Regions from separate parts of the Homo sapiens genome. Here region 1 is linked to region 2. Evidence: promoter capture Hi-C in human tissues and cell types (Jung and others, 2019). All regions are on one chromosome and are shown on one strand. The core of a region is centred on a gene start or on the middle of the fragment in contact, and the rest is flanking DNA. Distances in the headings are between cores, read along the strand shown. Region 1 overlaps SOBP (sine oculis binding protein homolog). Region 2 holds the start of SOBP (sine oculis binding protein homolog).

Region 1 (3,578 bases), core at 137-2,636, 140 kb before region 2:
AAGTTCAGCCTTTAATGGAATCCACCACTGCCTTCTGAGCAGTAATCTGGCATCAGGCAATATTTAATTAAGAAACCCTTTTGCTGAAATCTTTAACTGGGCAAAGATGTTTGTAGCAATGGAACAGTAAAAAAAAAAAAAAAAAAAAAGATATTAGCACCTCCGTGAATGCCATCAACAATTTGAAAAATAAAACAAAAAAAATCTTCACGTGCTTTCCACTTCATCTGACTGTCTACTAATGTATCTCCTAGGTAACAGCTCAGACGTTGTAGCTCCTTAAGCAAAACTGTAGCTTATCATAAAAGGGAGGTTCTCTGGGCCTTGGCATGTTGACTGTGGCACTGATCTTGTAGTCTAGGCCAGCTCAAAAATCATGAACTCATTCAAGTGAAGCAAAGGAGGATGGAGGGATGTGGGCAGGGGTGCTCAGTGTTTTGAAGGCTTTGGGGTCTGCTCTGCCTGTAGACAGTCACCTCACAGCATGAGCTGAGGGCCTCAGACTGACCCACCTGAGCACTTGCTCCCAGCCCTACCCTGGAATGCCGTGGTCCCAGTATCAACTGTTCCTTTGGGTCTAGACACTGCCACCAGCAGGGCCCTAGTTCAGTGTCCCTGAGTGGCAAAAGAGGCTATGGAAATCACATGGGATTTAGAATCAAAAGATGTTGGCATGAATCTGGGCTTTATTCCTTATTAGCAGTGCAACATTACGAAAATCTCAGCCTCAGTTTCTTTATCTGTAAAATGGAGCTAACAGTCTAATGATTGTGTGCTAGGCATATCACTAAGCTTCTTACAGAGTATATATTTTCAATCCCCAGCCTGTCCCACATGTTTTACATGTGTTTTATGGGGAGGATGCTTCTATGGCTGCAGGAAGAGGGAAAGGGAGATTTTCATCCACTGCTTTCCTATGAGCCTGTGTGTCTTTGAGATAAAACAGGGCACGTTTCTCTCTGGGCAAACTCATGCTACACCTCACAGATACCAGCCCCCACCTTGCTCCCTAGGAGGCTCTGTCCCCAGGGCTAACAGAGGAGCTGTCTGCAGGGACAAGGAACCAGCCCACAATTCTATGTGCATCCCAGCTGCCCACCATCCTGAAAAGCCTCTATTCAACTCCTGCTGAGCCCTCTTATTTTTCCAAGGCCAGTCATTTTCTAATTCAGGCAAAAGCTTGATAAAGCGACATGGCTGCTTGGAAATGAGCGTTAGAACCATTAAAATGAATCATTCCTCTTCGGCTCAACTGCTGTTTGAATAGTGGAAGCCATAAACTGTGCCATGCATATTGTATTAAAAAACAGAGCTGATGGACGATCTGCTTGACTCATTACATGGCAGAACTATCTTCCAAAGGAAAGGCCAGAAGCCACAGTATCAGGTGCCTTTTAAGACTGGATGACCCCAACCTGCCATGGCAGAATGTTCACTTGAGGGAAGAGCCCCCACAAAATGGGGAAGGGCACACCAACACTAAGCTCACCATTCCAAGTTTTTCTTGCAGAGCTGGATTTGAGTGAAGGAAGGAAAAAGATGACCTAGTCATAGACATGCAAAGCCATACGGAATTGAGAGAGGAATTTAAAGTAGAAACAGGAAGGGCTCTTATACAATAAAAACAAATGCATGAAGAAGTTCATTTTCAAAACAAGAAACTTTCTGCAGGTTTAGATTCCAACATGCTGGTGTTTGCTACATAGTTCTTTTTATTTGGGTTTTTTTGTTTGTTTGTCTGTTTTGCTTTGTATTTTATTCATTCTCTAGCTTGCTCTAGCTCTCTCTCTCTCTTAAATAAGATTTGGAGCTCAAGGAGAGGCTAAAGAACATCTTTGTTAGAAGTGAAAAAATCTCATTAGAAAACTGCCCTGTAGGAACTTTATACCATGACTCAAGTTCTACTTATCTTATAAATTTTAAGCTGGGTTCTAGAAATCTTGGCCCAGGTCACAGGAGCAGATCCTTCCTTCTCTTTCTCATGTGCCATGAACTCTGTAAGGCAGAGCAGAGATGGGCTTGGTTTTCAGGATCTCAATGAGCTTTAACAAATGGCTTATCATGGACCCAAGTCTCTGATTCTACAGCCAATGCAAGAGATGGAATCCTGGCCTGTATTCAGTGACTGCAGGCCCACCCTGACAGCCAAACACATGATTCAGAAGACGATTTTTCTCTTTGGGGTGATGTTTTACGTTGCTTAAGAGTATTAATATACCATGACAAAACTCTCTGCTTCATTTAAGGTGGATGAATGCAACTTACACCTTCACAATACAAATCATCCAGATGGAAACTAAAAAATTCAATCGTACATCAAAAAACCTGGTCTGCCTGGTACCAAATGCCTGCCTCTTTGTTTTCCAGTTATTTGGTCCTGAGAGGGCACAGAAATCACCTAAGAAATCTCAAAGCAGTGAAATTAAGCCCTGAAAGGAACCTCGGTGATCATCTCATCCTCTCCTCCAACCTCCAGCTCCCAGTGGAGCCAGGCATTTAATCCCTCTGAGCCTCAGTGCTCAGCTGTAAAAGGAGATCATCCACAGTGACGACCCTGCCTGGGGAAACATGTGAGAAAGAAAGGAAACTGGGAGGGGACTACAGACATGGAAAACGTGCCTCCTAAGAAGGGAGCAACGTCCTAGCCCATCTCCCATTGCCAGGCCGTCCCATGCCCATTTTATCAGCTCCAAGTATCACAACTACTCTCTGCCCTGAAAAATTTGCCATCACATAATCCAGTTTACTCATTGAAAAGTGAACATTTATTCAGGGCCCATCATGGGTGAGGTGCTGTGCTAGGAACCTGGGACATGAGTAAAATGAAGCTCCTGCCCTCATATGAGGTAGAATCTGCCCCAGGAAACTGGAGGCACAAGTTTTTGTTTTGTTTTCATTCAAGCATCTCTGCTTCAAACTGAAGCTTAAGAGAAAACCGATCTTCTATTTGTAACACTTTTATTCATTCAGAAATAAGTACTGCGCTGTGCTCCAGAAGGCAATGGGCTGTGGAACAGGGCAGGAGAGACTTAGTACACCTGCCCTTGCAGAGTTCAAAATCTGTCTATTAGCAATAAGTGGAAAAATTAGCACACACTCTCCTCTATCAACAGATTTGTTCTAAAGGTTAACATGCAACTAACAGCTTTTAGCAAAAAAAATCCTTAATATCTACTGTCTCAATGTCAAATTTCCCTTTGTTCTTCTAACCCAATACTGTGACTCCTCTTTTTTTAAAATGTATTATCTGAATCTTTTTTCAGATATGTATTTACCTTATTTACTGTAACTTTTTGTTTTTCAAGTATATATTTGGCTCTCTTTTTGTGTCACTGTTTTTCTTCCTGCTTTCTAATGAATATTTGAAGTTTCATTATTTGTGACTATAAGAGTTTAAGAAAAGTTGCAGGGAAGGACTTTGGGTTGTACTTGTATATAAGGGAAACCCATCAAACTAATGTGTTAAAAAGTGAAGTATGCTAGTTGCCCAGCTTCTGTCTGTGGTCACACACCTCATTTCTTCTGTCATGCAAACTTTTTTTTAGAAAATGGCAAAAATCATATTCTAAAATATGTGG
Region 2 (3,572 bases), core at 910-3,409:
GACAGGAGGTAAGGGTAAGTGAGGAAGAATGGTTATTATGGACTGTTTGAATTTTGTTCCCATCAAAAAACAACAACTTCTACCGGTCTTAAAAAAAATAAAATAAAACTGTCCATCATTGGAATCAACAGTGGTTTCCACCATAAGAAACAGCATTGATTTCCAAGGCAAATCTCCCTTAACTCTCCGTTGGACTCATGCTGCACCTCATGCTTCCAGGTACTAAGTTCCTTATCCAGTAATAAAACCCCTAATTCTGATATTTAGGTTGCTTCTGACATTTCTGAGAAGTAAAGCTAAGCATATGCACCTAGGTACGCATACATATATGATATATATCCATGCGTCCCCTGCTAAGCGTGAGCTATGATAGAAAATGCTTGTTCTAATGAAGAAAGCGTCAAAGCGCAATAAATTTGACTTACTTGCACACCATTTTCATCCAGTTTGTTTTTTAAATACAAACTGAACCAAAACTGGCCAAGTAGTAGTATTAAGCCACCTGGTAGTATTAAGGATTTCATGCAGAAGATGGGGAACACCAAGAAGACCGCAAAATGCAAACCTGCTACTTTTTGATGGCTCGCAGAAAAATAAATAAATTGTTTTATATCAATAGAGACTCGTGAAATCAACACAGAATAAAACCCTCGCCCAGGCAAAAGCCGCAACTTCATGGAAAATAAGGAGGTGGGGGGCAACGAGGGGGTCCAGAGCTGAGCGGTGCTCTTGTGCAATTGCTCTAACGCGAACAGCTGGAGCGCCAGGCTGCTGCGCTCTCCACCTCTGGTGCACCGCTGGCCTGGCGGGGAGCCCAGCCTCGCCGAGAGGACTCCGGGCCGGCCTTAGCGAACAATGGACAGGCGCCCTGCAAAGGCCGCCCCTCAGACAGCTGTCCTCCAGCGGGGCTGGCCGGGGTCTGCTTGGCTGGGAAGTGAGGCAGGCAGAGGCGAGCGGGAGGCGGAGGCTGCCAGTGGTGAGGTGCGGGCGGGGGCGGGCGAGGAGAGCGGTCAGGACCGTGCCCAGACCCGCGCCTCTCGGGCCGCAGCTCGCCGGGCACTGACGGGCTCTTCACGCCGTCGCAGCTGGTTGGTTGGGGGGAAGCGGGATTGAGGAGCAGGAGGGTGAGCTGGGGGAGAGGGGTGGAATAGAGCTCTCTCCGGGGTGCCCCGGCCAGGAGGCTCCTAACTTTGGAGGGACCCTGAGGATGATTCTCAAAAAGGGGGGAGAAACTGCACCGTCCACTGGGAAAGCCTCTTCCCCTGCCCAACGCCGCTCGAGTCCCCGGTGCCCTCGCCCTGAAACGCGTCCGTGCCAACCTGGGATTCGTAAGGTTAAATAGTATGTGGTCCCCCCTCATCAAATCTGAGGTTGGCAACAATTTCGGGGATGCAGCCCTCGAGTTGGCCTCTGCTTTACACCTGGAGGAGGAGCGGAGCCGTTCTGGGCATCCTACAGAAACTGACAAGCGCGCCCCGGTACCCCCCAGATCCATACCACGGCCCACGGGGAGCGGGCGCAAGAAAGAGCTCAGTCTCCCTGGCCCCCGAGATCAAAAAATACCTTCATCTCCTCATTGATCTCCCTTTTCACTGGGTGAGCCGGCTTCCTGCTCCGTTTATTTTCGGGAGGTCTCCCTTCTTTCTCCATTTCTGCCATGTTTTTGTGTCTGGTTTCTGTGGAGATGAAATGGCTGCTGCCGCCGCCGGCGGTGGTGGTGGCGGCGGCGGCGGCGGTGGAGGTGGTGCTGATGGTGGCGAGGCTGGCGGAGGTAGCGGTGCTGGCGGGGCCGGACCGAGCCGCGAGGGGGAGGGCAGGCGCCGAGAAGCGGGGTCTCTTCTAGCGGCGGAGGACGTCAGTGGCTGTCACGGGTAAGGATAGTGCGGAGAGTCTCGGGGATGCCGCCGCCGTCGCTCCGGCTCCTGCTGCCGCCGCCGCCGCCGCCGCAGCCAACGCCGCCGCTGCTGCCGCTGCCCCTGCCGCCCTCGCTGCCGCTGCCGCTCCCGCCGCCGCCGCCGCCGGGCCGCATCCTCGGGGCCCCGTGGAGTCGTCAGCCATCTTCCGTCGCTCGGTCCGTCCGCATGGGCGCGGGGAGCAAGGGCCGGCGCGGAGAGCGGCCCCGGGCGTGCGTGCGCGGCTGTGTGTGAGCCCGGGAGAGCGCGCCAGCCCCGGCGCCCAGCGCCTCCCGCGAGCCGAGCCGGGGGCGGGCCGGGGGCCGGCGCGGGAGGAGGGGAGGGAGCGCGGCCGGGAGGGGGTCGGAGGGAGGGGAAAGGTGGGGGGGGCGAGGACAGCCCCCCGGCTCTCGAGCGGGCGTGGCTTCCACCGTCACTGGATACGCGGATGCTGCGCGGCTCCGGGGGCTGCTCGCAGCCGCCTGTTCATCCGCGGCGGGCACGGGCGGCTCGCGGCGCCCCCCGCGGCCGCCACCTCCCCGCCACACGCCAGGGGCGCCGGCGCCCGCTCGGAACCCAGCCCTGCTTCTCAGCTCCGCGAGGTGGGCTGGGTTGCGTGTGGAGTTGGTTTTTGAGCCCGTCCTAGGAGCCGCTGAGGAAAAATGAATGGGGGTGAAAGGAGAAGGTTGGGCGGCGGGAGGTCGCGAGACCTGAGGTCGCCTGGCTAGAGGGCCGCCGTCCCCCGGGGAGGGTTGACTGAGCCTGCCGCCTCGGGGGTGCAACGCTGGGGTCTCGGGGAAAGGAAACCACAGCCCGGACGAGCTTCCCCCCACTGAGCTGCCAGAATAGTTTCCCCCTCCGGGGGCCACCGCAGAGTGCGCGGAGGCTGGAGACCCCTTGGAGAGGTCCCCGCGCCCCGCCCGGCCGGTCCTCCACGCGGCGCTGCCTCGGACTGCAATGGCAATGAAGCTTTTGCCTCTCAAAGAACTACTTAGAAGTAGGACATCTCGGCCTTCAGCCCCTTCATTTCTTTTTCCCCTTGTTCCTTCTCTCTTTATCTCTCTCTCACTTATGCCCTGCTTCAAAGTAACAGCTTTACGCGTGACCCCGCCTGCACCCTTATCTGGGTGTCCTGGGTTTCGCCCAAAAGGTTGGGCTGAGTGGGAGCTTCTGGGAGCGCACGGTCCCGCGTAGGGTCCCGCTCACCCGGACCCCGAACGCCCTCGCCACGCCCCGGTGGGATCCTCCCCTCCCCGCCTGGTTGCACTTTCTCCTCCCGACTTCCCAGCTAGCGCCTGCCCTCCATGGAGCGGTGCTCGCTCCCTCTGCGCTCACAAGTCCCCTCTTTGGCCCTCTCCTGCCACGCCTGGGGCCGAGGTCTGATTGAGTCTGTCCCTGTCCCTGGGTTGAGGCATTGGGGGTGACGACTGGATGATGTTTCTGTGATACGCGCGGCTCTGAGCGCTCCCACACGTTGCAGAGGACACATTGACGTTCCCGGCTTCTCCTTCCCGCGCCTCGACACTTCATAATTACCTGACACAATGCGATATGGGGGTGTCCATTGTTCCACTGCATGTTACTGTGGAGTGTTCGTTATGACAGTGGTGGAACTTAAAATTACACAATTTTTTTAAGTTCCTAAAAGAATGAATTCCGTGTGGGGATATGAGTAAGCTT

The links. Contacts are between HindIII fragments. The study calls those that stand out against the background at their distance.
Region 1: a fragment that was not itself captured here is called in contact with the fragment with the promoter of SOBP in region 2 in 1 of the 25 tissues and cell types used here (dorsolateral prefrontal cortex).

The regions. Positions count from the first base shown.
Region 1 is chr6:107,625,803-107,629,380 of GRCh38, reverse strand. All of the region lies in intron 5 of SOBP (sine oculis binding protein homolog), which reads right to left. Among named protein-coding and RNA genes, the nearest start is that of SOBP, 140 kb to the right of the region's middle. The HindIII fragment of the contact is 3,928 bases long and covers 1-3,350 here.
Region 2 is chr6:107,488,704-107,492,275 of GRCh38, reverse strand. SOBP (sine oculis binding protein homolog) reads right to left here and starts at 2,159. Exons shown (of 7, transcript NM_018013.4): 1 at 1,564-2,159. The coding sequence starts at 1,659. RefSeq lists silencers at 1,780-1,839, 1,880-1,929. The HindIII fragment of the contact is 10,430 bases long and covers 1-3,215 here.